Regions from separate parts of the Homo sapiens genome. Here all the other regions are linked to region 3. Evidence: promoter capture Hi-C in human tissues and cell types (Jung and others, 2019). All regions are on one chromosome and are shown on one strand. The core of a region is centred on a gene start or on the middle of the fragment in contact, and the rest is flanking DNA. Distances in the headings are between cores, read along the strand shown.

The links. The method cuts DNA at HindIII sites, captures the fragments that hold promoters and counts their contacts. A contact is called where the count stands out against the background at its distance.
Region 1: a contact is called between a fragment that was not itself captured here and the fragment with the promoter of UCHL1 in region 3, in 2 of the 25 tissues and cell types used here (hippocampus and lymphoblastoid cells).
Region 2: a contact is called between a fragment that was not itself captured here and the fragment with the promoter of UCHL1 in region 3, in 2 of the 25 tissues and cell types used here (dorsolateral prefrontal cortex and mesenchymal stem cells).

What each region holds. Positions count from the first base shown.
Region 1 is chr4:40,736,245-40,740,409 of GRCh38, forward strand. No RefSeq gene overlaps it. Among named protein-coding and RNA genes, the nearest start is that of NSUN7, 12 kb to the right of the region's middle. The HindIII fragment of the contact is 5,767 bases long and covers 1-4,165 here.
Region 2 is chr4:41,884,178-41,888,485 of GRCh38, forward strand. The region is part of intron 1 of LOC124900696 (a long non-coding RNA gene); the gene reads right to left. Among named protein-coding and RNA genes, the nearest start is that of LINC00682, 3.7 kb to the left of the region's middle. The HindIII fragment of the contact is 7,578 bases long and covers 1-4,308 here.
Region 3 is chr4:41,255,370-41,259,339 of GRCh38, forward strand. It overlaps UCHL1 (ubiquitin C-terminal hydrolase L1), which reads left to right and starts at 1,559. Exons shown (of 9, transcript NM_004181.5): 1 at 1,559-1,640; 2 at 1,746-1,757; 3 at 2,240-2,368. The coding sequence starts at 1,608. It overlaps UCHL1-DT (UCHL1 divergent transcript), which reads right to left and starts at 1,358. Exons shown (of 3, transcript NR_102709.1): 1 at 1,190-1,358. RefSeq lists a silencer at 1,675-2,434 and an enhancer at 2,269-2,769. The HindIII fragment of the contact is 4,741 bases long and covers 1-3,570 here.

The DNA of each region.
Region 1 (4,165 bases), core at 378-2,877, 520 kb before region 3:
TTTTATTTTACTTTTTTAAAGAAGTAGACTCTATAACTAAGGTACTACCAGAACACAGTTATCTTCTGGTTTTTCATTTATCTGTTGTAATTGACCCAGATTGCTTAAACATGAGAATGTAGCAGCAAAAAAGAAATACACAGGCTAGGAAGCAGAGCTCAATTAAGAATAGAGAAAGCAGAAGAAAAAGAGAATAGACAAGGAGTCAGATGTAGGGTTCAATGGGAAAGGCAAGCAGTTCAAACTGGAGCAGTGTGAATAGAACCATATGAGTTGAGCAATCCTAAATAATCATGCTATCCAGATTTCAAGAAAACCTTTTTCTGAGTCACTTGGAAACATATAATTCTAAATTTAAAACCAGGTAGGAGCCAGGTTCTACGGCTCACGCCTGCAATCCCAGCACTTTGGGAGGCTGAAGTGGGCAGATCACTTGAGCTCAGGAGTTCAAGAACAACCTGGACAACATAGCGAAACCCCATCTCTACCAAAAAAATACAAAAATTAGCCAGGCATGGTGGCGTATGCCTGTAGTCCCAGTTACTTGGGAGGCTGAGTTGGAAGGATCACTTGAGCCTGGGAGGCAGAGGTTGCAGTGAGCTGAGATCATGCCACTGCACTCCAGCCTGGGTGACAGAACCGGACCCTGTCTCAAAAAAAATAAAAAATGAAACAGGGTAGCATTGGCATATGGAGTAAATACTGAACTGTATTGGCATGCTTATGCTAAAAAATTATTTGTTGTTTATCTAAAATTCAGATTTAACTGGGCATCCTATAAATTATCTGGCAACCCTAACTGTACATGCAATAAAAAAAAAATAAACAACTTACCAATTTGCCAGCAGATGGCTCCCCAAATCTAGTTTAGAATGAAACAGTGCATCCAAACATAGTGAGAAGTCATTATTGTTTCAGGGCTTTTGTTTTGAGTGTTTGTTTGATTGGCCTGGTCTGGTTGGATTCATTTTTTGCCAGGGGTGGGGGGAAGGGGCAGTGATAATTTTTATTTAGTTATATAAAAATATTAAATATCTTCTACCATCATTTCATACGATTCTTCATGATCCTTAACTTTAATGTTAAAATGAAAAAGAAATCACAATTTAATTTTCTATATTTTTTCTTTTATATTTGCTCAAGCATTTAAATACCAAGGCAACATGTATAATTTCAGTATAAGGTGACTCTGACATTTCGCGAAGGAATTCCATGCCCATTAGATTATGTATGCTGAGCATCAGGTTAGGGATCTTTATAAAAACTATACCTTTGCCTCTTTCATGCAGTCCGATTTGCTACAATATTTTAGCATTGAGGCATGAGCTTTGTTTTGACTCCAAAGCACACACCCAACACTCCCAATGAAATAATTGATTCAGTGGAATTTTTAGATCTGCCACAATTTTACCAACCCTTTGCTAATGCCAGAATACCTCCAAAAACAATCAAGCTTAGGCTCCGGTGAAAAACTCAGGAACCACCGTCAAGAAACATATAATAATTAAGTTGCATTTCCCACATTTCTATTAATACATAACGTACAACTCAATTTTGGATTTTTAAAAACTGTTGTCGTATACTATTCATTCTTAGTTCCACACTGGTTTAATAGAATCCTTCAAAGAATGTGCTGAGAAACCATGATTATTCTATAATAATGGCTTTCCTGCATTGCAAACGAATTAGGCTAGAATGTTCTCATACAATGTGAAGGGCACTATTTTAATGTGGCATTCACAAAAAGAGTGTATATGTCATATTAGAAGTGGTCTCCATCCTCCAATGCTCTGTGCCCCAGGAGGGTGCCCTGAATGGAATGCATCAAAGGGCTCCCTTGCTCTCAGACTGTGGGTTGGAATCAGCCAATCGTAGATATTGCAGCAGATGGGGAGAGCAGGAAAAGTGAGATCAGAAATATGTTTCTCCAGCTCACTCTCTACTGGTGAGTTGCCATGGGTTGGATGCAAACTTCTACTGAAGGCTATAGGTTCTATCAGGTGATCTTTTCTTTTCTTTTTCTTTTCTTTTTTTTTTTTTTTTTTGGAGACAAGAGTCTCGCTCTATCGCCCGGGCTGGAGTGGTGCAAGGGCACCATCTTGGCTCACTGCAACCTCTGCCTCCCAGGTTCAAGCGATTCCCCTGCCTCAGCCTCTTGAGTAGCTGGGATTACAGTCACGTGCCACCACGCCCAGCTAATTTCTGTATTTTTAGTAAAGATGGGGTTTTGTCTTGTTGGCCAGGCTGGTCTCAAACTCCTGGCCTCAGGTGATCCACCTGCCTCGACCTCCCAAAGGGATTACAGGCGTGAGCCACCACACCTGGCCTATCAGGTGACTTTTTCTAAATAGACCTTTCCTGCTCCCTTCTCCCAAATCTGGGGTAGAGGTTCTGTTTGCTCCATTGGGCCCTTTAGGCACCAGTATCACTATACTGCACTATAATTTTCTGCCCACCCCGTTGCATCTGTAAGTATCCACAAGACTAGGAACTGTGTCTTATTTTTGTCTTACTGATAGTAGATGTTCAGTAAATCTTCACTTAATCTGATAGAAGTTTTCATAATACAAATTTAAATAATCTTTTTAAATCTCTAAAAAAACTTTTAATAATAAAAAGAGTATTTCTCTAACTCTTTTTCACATAAACAAGGGCAAAATCCTGCTGGGTCTTAAAAAATTAAGAAATCTTAAATGAGTCACTGAAAAGCCTGGTTTAATATTCTTCTCTTAATAAATATTTATTGATTTATTTATATAGAGAGATGGGGTCTCACTTTATTGCCCAGGCTAGCCTTGAACTCCTCAGCTCAAGCAATCCTCCCAGCTCAGCCTCCCAAGTAGCTGGGACTATAGGTGTGCCACTGCACCCAGCATTATAATAATTTTTTAAAAGGATTCAAAATTTTAAAGTGATTTTAAAACATAGATGAAAAGGGCTTATATTTTATATTTAATATACACTTTATAATCTTTTAGAATATTATAATATCTTATGAACTTTTTTCTTGCATATGAGATCAATGTTATATTTTTAAAGAGCTAATCATGATATCATCTGAATTTATGGGAACGATACTTAATAGGCATTATGTTATATAGAGAAAAGTATGTTTACTTAAGAGAGATCTGATCCATTCTTACAAAGCTTTGGAACACTTACAATAAATAATTTGTAATAGAGTTCATAATAGTGGAGACATTATGAACAGGTGGTATCTATTAACAGAATGTGAATTACAGATTTGGCATTTATCTAGTTTATCTAGGTAATCTAGTTATCAGCAATGCAAAATGGTTGATCTAGATAATCCAATGACAATGAAAAAATTCATTTTAAGCCTTAGATTATTTGAACCAACAATAGATACTGATCAAATTAACTAGAAAAATGACCAAAGTTAATTTTATTATGAATATATAAATATAGCCCTAAGGTAAGAACAGAACCACTTAGCATTTTATAGTGTTTAACCCTTCAGTTTCCTTGAAACTTTCACAGGAATTTTACTTCAGCATGAAGTTCAAACATATACTCTTAATTTTTTTCAAAACTCCTTTTAACAATCTCTTCTCCTACTTTAGAAAATTAAATATATTTATCCTTTTTTGGTAAGTAAATATTGCAATTTATATTTGGGTTTCACCACATTAGAATTCCTTCCTCTGAAAACATTCATTTCAAGATAGTTGGGCTAATAAATTTGTGAAAAAATTATTGGCAAAACGAAGTAGAAAAAAGGGGATTAAGTGAAGTCATGCATTATAGTGCTTCATTTACATATGAATAGAAATGTCAGTGATTAATAATAAATTTTATCTTAGTCTTTGAAAATAAGATTTCTTTTTTCTTTCTTTCTTTTTTTTGAGACAGGATCTGGCTCTGTTACCCAGGCTGCAGTGCAATGGTGCAATCTCTGCTCACTGCAATCTCCATCTCCCAGGCTCAAACCATCCTCCCACCTCAGCCTCCCGAATAGCTGGGACTACAGGCATGCACCACCACACCTGGCTAATTTTTTTGTATTTTTAGTAGAGTTGGGGTTTTGCCATGTTGCTCATGTTGGTCTCAAACTCATGAGTTCAAAGCAATCCACCCATCTTGGTCTCCAAAAGTGCTGGGATTACAGGTGTAAGCCAACATGCCTGGCCTGAAAATAAGATAT
Region 2 (4,308 bases), core at 835-3,334, 630 kb after region 3:
CCTTGAGCACAAAAGTCCACAAGGACTGGTAAGGTCGATTTTGTGCTATTTTGGTCTCCACGGGCTGAATTTCAAAATTCAACAGGAAGCACTAGCAGATAGCAGATCCTTGGGCTTCGGATTTATTTGTTTCTCTTGTTTTACAGAAAGACCAGCCTCAGTGACAGTCACACTGTATGGAACAGATTCAACTGGCCCACTCTTTTTTAATAAATAAATGACATTAAAGAGTCTGGCAGTTCTGGGAGGCAGGGTTTTATGAGCTAATCACACCCCTGGGGGGAATTTGGTAGTGTGTAGTATAGTCTCACCCTGGGGGTGTGATTACCCTATGGTAGCCACACCCACCCATCATGCTTTATTTCTTAACCAATAAATCACTACAAATGATGTGATCTGCACAGCCATATATCTCAGGCCCCTCCTTGCACACACAAGCAGCCCCTGCTGGTGAAACCAGTGGAGCAAAGTGATGCTCCCTGAATGGACATATCCCATCCTGCCCTTTGTGATAAAAATTTTAAAACAAGGGTGTGTCTTAGGTCTGCCTATTTTTTCCTTTCTTCTATTGAGACATTAAAAAGGGACCCTGAGTTCCTCTTGCCACTCATGTTCCCATCCCTTTGATTTCCCCCAGAAGAGTGCCCAGCTTGGCATTTGGTTGTATTTAGTTGGGCTCCTGCTAGATTGAAACATGAGTTTTTCCTGGGAATTCTGGTTATTTGTGATCCTTGGGTGAGCAAGGCGCAGGCTTTTGTATTGTAGCTCTTTATCAGGGCATTGCTGGGACTGGCGCACGTGCTCTTAAAGGTCTCTTCGGATAATCAGTGTCACTCCCATTGTAGTTGGATTCCTCCAGCCTCGTTTTCTTTCCCTCCCCATGTTCCATCTTCCTCAGTAAAGCATTCATTTGCTTTAACTTCACCTAGTCTAATTGACAGGATCCATTGTCATCTGCCTAAAACTTTTGTTCTTCTCGTCTTTATCCCTCTGAAGTGAGAATGCTATGCCCCCTCCAACCTTTTTTTTTTTTTTAAGATTTTTCTAGCTGATCGCATACAAGGCAGCACTCTGCATAAAAAGGCAATGGCTAACCCAAGACAGAGTAACTTACAGACCCCAGAAGCCGAGCAGGAGCTGCACTACAACCTGAAAAAGGGCCCACACATTTGAGGCCTGGCACAGGGCAAGGAAACATACCTATGAGGCGACAGAGTAGAGTTTTCTTGTTGGGTTTTGGGAAGAAATAAATATTTTTTGAACAGTGACATAACTTGGACTTCTCCCACTTGAGACAAAACTTGAGAACTTGCTGCCAGATCTGGGGGAGAAATTACATTAAGGAGGAGGATTCCACCTCCAATATCAGCCCTGAAAAGAAGTGAGAATCCTGCCAGCATTCGCAGCCTGGACATCTGGAAAACTTCACTGTTCTGACCAGAGCTTGCCACTCTAATCCTCTGATCTCTTGACAGTGGTTCTGATCCCACTGCCAGCAAGAAACAGTGCCTGCTGCATTTGGGGATGGGGGATAAGGAGAGGGCTTGGTAGACTGTCATTGGAAGATCATGAGAAGAGATCTCCATATTTTATGGTTATCTAGACAATGAATCTGATCTCAATTTATCAGGATTACTTGACCTCAGTGGCATGCATTTTCTCAAAGGTGAGTTTGGAGCTAAGAAGGATATCCATTAGCTTGACTAGTAAAAATATGTTGGTTAATGGATTCTACTAGACATTCACATTCAGATTGATTACTCTGTTATACTCTTATGAAGTACAAAAAATTTACCACCCCTTCTCCGCCTCAGAAGCACACATCTGTGTTCAATAGCAATCACTATCAAGGAAGTTTCATTTGAGAGTTGCCTGGAATGCCAATTGATTCTTTTTTTTTTTTCTTTTTTTGAGATGGAGTCTCACTCTTTCACCCAGGCTGGGATACAGTGGTGTGATCTTGGCTCACTGCAACCTCTGCCTCCAGGTTCAAGTACTCTCCTGCCTCAGTCTCCCGAGTAGCTGGGATTACAGGCACTCACCACCACACCCAGCTAATTTTTGTATTTTTAGTAGAGATGGGTTTCACCATGTTGGCCAAGCTGGTCTTGAACTCCTGGCCTCAGGTGATCTGCCTGCCTCGGCCTCCCAAAGTGTTGGGATTACAGGCGTGAGCCACTGAGCCTGGCCAATGCCGATTGATTCTGCCCTATTTCCACAAAGACACGATGCAGTCAACCAGTATACTAGTTCTTTTTTTTTTTGTATCCAGTTTAGGGGGATGATTCATGCTACATGCATCCCCCATGTCTGGAAAAGTGAGCCAATACCTGCATGTCTATTCATTCTCTTTAGATTGACCCCTCCTCAGGCACCTTGTCCCCTAAACCCCTTATATTTTCCTGGCAATCCATCTCTTTGACATCTTCCATTTTTTAAAGTCTTGTTTTTCTGTAATTGGTGGCTCCCTTCTTGGGGCTGACAGTGTTCACGTGTGGCAGCAGAAAGGGTGCTGTGTTTGGAGTTGGGGGAAATGACTTTGAGTTCCAGATTCAGGCATAGTAACTGTGGCTAGAGTGGACGAGGAAGAAATGTCCTACAGAACATTCCGATTTCATTAGACTGCTTTGGGGTCTGAGACTCAGTACTTTTAAAAACTCGCCAGAGCATTCTTATGTGCAATGAAGGTTAAGAGCCTCTGTTCTATACTGATGCATTGAAGGAGCTCTTGGGGTCAGGGACTCTACGAGGCCAGGACCAGAAGAGTGGGAAAGTCAATGGTGGGGCATCCACTTGGGCTTTCACTTCAAAGGGAAAAAACCCTCTTCCTTGTGATACTGCTCAAGCTCATTGTAAATAGTGTCCTGAATGTATGCTGGAAAAGGGAAAACATGCATGAGCTTCAGTCCAGGCTCTAATATTCCTGTTTTGTGACTTTAGACCAGTCACTTTATTTCTCTTGGGCTGCAGTTGTTTAAAATCTCGCAATGTGGAGATGACAATCTCTAGCACACGGGATTGGCATGAGGGTCAAACTAATACTACTACTATTAATAATAACTGCCATTCATTGCATTCTTATTCTGATTCTCAGGCACCCTCCAAGTGCTTTATGTGAATTATCTCATTTAACCCTTGCAAAATTCCATCTAAGGAAGATCTTATGAGGAAACACTGTGTTGAAAAGTCCTTTGTAATTAATAAAACCTTGTGAATGTATGATATCGTGCTCCACATAGTTTTGCAAAACTCCCTTACATATATATTGCCCAAGGGTATATAAATGAAAAGTAGAGACACTAAGATTTATGACTGGCTCTTTTAACACCAAGGTCATTGATCTTTCTACTATACTCCACTGGTTCCTGGATAATTGCAGATTATGTAATAGTATGTTTGAACTCAACTGTTCCTTAGTTCCTTGCTAGGAAAAATCTAATCCACCAAATCGGCTTCACCAAGATGCAAAGAAAGCTCAGAGTTTAAAATGTTTGATTTTATTCTATCATGAAGTATGGTTTCTGTATTCTGGCAGTGGGATGTATCTATTTTAAGGCTAAATGTCATTTCTTGGCATATGAAACAGTCATTTATTTATTCGGATGTGAAGTCCTTTAGATTTGCCAAGATAAGGACCAGTAGTCCTGAACTTGGGGATGCATTTCTTAACTGAGAAGCTCATAGTTCTGCTATTACAGCTACTGCTGCTTTCACCACATTTTAGAGGAGGCAGGCATTATAAAATGCCCTTTGATGAACATCTATGTAATTGAAGACTTAATACTCCCTCTGATTGTCACTAGTTCTCTTGCATTTAAATCCTGTTCTGTACAGTGAATTTGGCCTTGGTTCAGTTCACTTCATAGAGTGCCCCCAGGCCCCTCATTTATCTAGATGGCCCTGAGACTGGATTGTAGATTAGTACTACCTTTTGCTTTATTCTGTCTCTTGATTGTCTGTCTACCAGAAGGCAGGAACAAGGACTGGTTCTTCTATGTCATTGTATCTCTATAAAAGTTTTATTGAAACTGAAACTTATTTAAAATGCGTTTTATTTTTAAGTTACAGGTTTTATTTATTCTAGTTATTTCTGTCCTTGGTTTCAATGAGTGGACTGCCCCCTGGTGGACAAGAACTGTCAGCTCACATGAAAGTTAGCATGCTTTTGTAATTTCAGGCCATAGTCTGAATTATTTTTCTTCAATTAATATGAATTATATTCCATGAACAATAAGAATTGAATTCATAATATGTCAAATTCAATAAAAAAACAGAACTCTAAGATTCCTCCAGATATTCTTGGAATAC
Region 3 (3,970 bases), core at 309-2,808:
AATGTAATTTGTCTTTGTCTAAAGGCAAGAACTCATTCAATATAACCTAGTCACTTGTCTTGACCTTCACCTCTTTTTTTCTTTAACAACCTTATTGAGGGAAAATTTACATACCATAAGATTCACCCATTAAGCTCCTCTTACTAATTTTTTTCTCTCTCATTTTTGTGTGTGAAGGTCATTTTCTAATGGCAAAAATGGAAAGAAAATAGAAGTAGAATGTTGTGGAATCTTAGATAAAGAATGGGCTCTTGGAGCCCAGTTTAGCAGGGTTTACTTCTCAGTTTTACTTTTCAATTGTGACCGTAAGCAAATTAACTTCTCTAGGCCTGGGATTCTGATCTGTAAAATTGCACTAATATGAGTCTCTTCACGGCTCCTCTAAGGATTAAATGAGAGACACATGCAAAGGATCCCCAAAAACAATAACTCAAAAAATGTTGATTCCCTCCCTTCCCTCTGTCATCTGTTAACCTCAACTTCCTAAATAGAAGGTCTATTCTTTTACCATCATCATTATTCTCTTCGGTGCCTATTTTTAAAAAATACTCAACCTTCTTGCTTCCTTCGCTACCTAAGTATTTCTGCAAGCCCACTTTGTTCTGCAGCTTAGCTTTCCTGGCACAATTCTTATAGATTTTGGTCCCTTTTAAAATTCATTCTTCAGCAAATGCTTTCTCTCTCCATCTTTTGACTAGAGATCATTAGAGATCACCTGAGATCATTAGAGAACAGTGGTTTCCTTGGTTGCCATTCCCTTTCTTCTTCATTGGGAGTATTCTGCGGTGAACTCAGACATTTTATTTTTCAAAGCTTCCCATTCTTTTAAAAATGCTTTTCCTTTTACAGCCTCTCGCTCAAAATCATACCCATCTTTTCCCTGGATCTGTTTTCTCAAGTCTCCAATCGCCTGCCTTCTTTGTGTCTTGTATTACCCTCACATCCCCCAGCTTTCTACTGCTCTCCCAGGACCAACCATTTCTTCCGCGGGAGTCACATTACATCAGCATTCCTAATGCAGTATCTGTTATCTACCAGATTCTGTTTTATTCTAGGTAGTCACTTAAAAACGAACCTCGGTACTGGTCTGACTTAACATGGAGGAGGAATTGTCTAAGGTTAAACGCAAACTGCTGAGAGATTTGGGGCGGGGGGCACACATTTACATTCATTCGTATTAAATATATACCTGTTGAATTTGTGCTTTTTCTCAAATGCTTCAGAGACTCGAGCTTTAGAGTAATTGGGATGGTGAAAGGATGGGTTTCCAGAAACTTCGCCCAAAATTAAAGACTCCATCAAAAGGACTGCTCCATACACTCAAGGAACACCCACCAACAAATCCCGTCTCCACAACCACCAGATTATCTCACCGGCGAGTGAGACTGCAAGGTTTGGGGGCCCGGCCGTACCACTCCGCGCTGCGCACGGGGGGTTCGTACCCATCTGGCCGCGACCGTCCGTTTCCCCCTCGCTTGGTTCTGCCCCTGCTCCCCCTGCACAGGCCTCACAGTGCGTCTGGCCGGCGCTTTATAGCTGCAGCCTGGGCGGCTCCGCTAGCTGTTTTTCGTCTTCCCTAGGCTATTTCTGCCGGGCGCTCCGCGAAGATGCAGCTCAAGCCGATGGAGATCAACCCCGAGGTGAGCGCCAGGTGCACCGCTACCCGGAGAGCGCGAGGCCGAGGGAGGGGGAGCCGAGTCGCTGATCGGTTCGGTTTTGCCTTTTTCTTTGCATTTGCCTTTCAGATGCTGAACAAAGTGAGTGGCGTCTCGCGCCGTCTCTGGCCCCCTCCCCCGCGAGCGCCGAGGCGGGGGCGCCCACCGGTTCCGGCTGCTGGCAGGGACCAAGCCGCCCGCTGCGAGCACCGGAGACGGCCGGGCTGGGGCGTGGGCTGGGCGCCTTTCCTGGGCCCCTGCATTTAGCGGGTGACTCTACGAAACCGGTCACGGGGAGACGGAGGGGGCTGCGCCCCGTGGCGAGCGAGCGCCAGGCGGAGCTCCCGAGGGCGTGGCGCGGGCAGCACAGACTCGGCTGCACGGGCTTCGCGGGCGCCACGTGTGGGCCGCGCTTTGTGCTGTGTCATTGCGCCGGCCCGGGTGGGGGTGGCAGGGCGGGACTGGGGCTCCTCCCAGGCTCGGGTGCGGGCGCGGAGGGCGCGCGCCTCCTGGCCCCGCCCCCTGGCAGGTGCCCGCGACCCGCGTGTCCCCGTGCGCCTGGCCGCCTTGTCTCCTCTCCGCAGGTGCTGTCCCGGCTGGGGGTCGCCGGCCAGTGGCGCTTCGTGGACGTGCTGGGGCTGGAAGAGGAGTCTCTGGGCTCGGTGCCAGCGCCTGCCTGCGCGCTGCTGCTGCTGTTTCCCCTCACGGCCCAGGTAGGGCGTGGGGCCCAGGATGCGCCGGCCGCCGGCAGTGCACGCCGCTCCCCAGCTTGAGTCCTCGGGGGCTCCCCGCCCCGCCCCCTCCCCTGTAGGTGATGCGGGGCGCGCCTACAAGGAAGGGAGGAGCCTGCATTTTCGTGGTACCTACTCCCTGGGCTCCTGTTCCAGCGGTGCCTGTCGCCTTCTTGCCCATCCGTCCACAATTGCCTTAAATTTGGAAGAGAGGCAGTATCTCAGTTCCATCTATCCCGTTATCCAGGGAAATCATTCATCCTACTCATGAGTTCCCTCGAACTTGGGCTTTTTCGAGCCTCCGGTTCCGGGGAATGGCTGCTGGTTTCCCTTTAAGGGCTATAACCTGTCAACTCATTGTTTGCTTCTCAGACTCCCACCTAGCTGTAGAATGGAGGGGGAAGGGCTGACCTAAATCGCAGGGAAACAATTAGGTTCGCTAATTCTCCGCCTCCATTACTTGGGTTTCTGATGGTCTTAAGGGGTTCTTCTCTCTTCTCCACTCCCACCACTTGCACACTTGGTTTTTAGCCTCTTGAATGTATTTCTTAAAGCTTAATCATTTTGTGTATGGTTTCTGTGTGGGAACCTCCTTCCTCTTCACTTATCCTTGTTCATCTCTGACCTTGTAGCTAACTGAAATAGGGGGTTATTAGCTCAGTTTTGAAAGCACCTTTGCATTTCCCTTGAAATGATTTTCCTCCTACAAGTGTGCATGGATAGATGTATCTGAAAGACAGCGTCAGATTTTTTTTTTTAAAGGATAGCTAGGATATTTGCAGTCTTGTGATGTATGGAATCCCAGTCATTAGCGCATGGCATTGTCTTATCTCCTATTGCTGTCACTTGACCGCTGATGTGGGAGTGACTGAAATTAGCTTTAGCAAAACTTGGGGCATCACTCTAAAGAGTGAGGTTAACTGAAGCACCGTCCTAAGGCTAGGTGTTCTGGAAGCATCTGTAGCCAAAATCAAGAGTATGGGAAGTTCCAAGCCTTCCTCCTAGTAAGTAAGCTAAGTATTGTGGGTAAAAACACTTATTTACAGCTAATAAGATGATCTCACTGACATGTTTTTATTGCTAAAGTCTTTTACTTGGGCTAAAAGGAAGATGCCAAATTGTTGGAAGTCGAATTAGCTTCCTGGTTGACCAAATCAGTCTCCTGTCTCCAGTTGAGCATCACACAGAGGTTTTTTATTAGAGCAACCATGATGACTCGGAGGTTTTGAGCAGCATTCAGAGGCAAGGCCTCTGGGAGGCAGTGGTGCAGCATGTTTGCCTTTAAAAGCTGACTGTTCTCCTTTTGCTGAATCTTGTTTAGAGAACATTCTAGTTTGTGTTATGTTTGAAAGAGCTCGATACTTTGTCCTTTAGTTTCAATTCAACCTATCAGATTTATCGAGCGCCTATTCTGCTACACAGAATGCCTACTGGACAAAACACTGAAGCCGATTGAAAGAAAAGTTGAGGTTTTATAGGTTGACTCCAAAGATGCTAATGTTAATTTGGAAGGCATTTAATTTTTGACTAAGGGAATGTTATGACCCCCTACATGGACCACTTCTGAAACATTAAGTGCTAGTA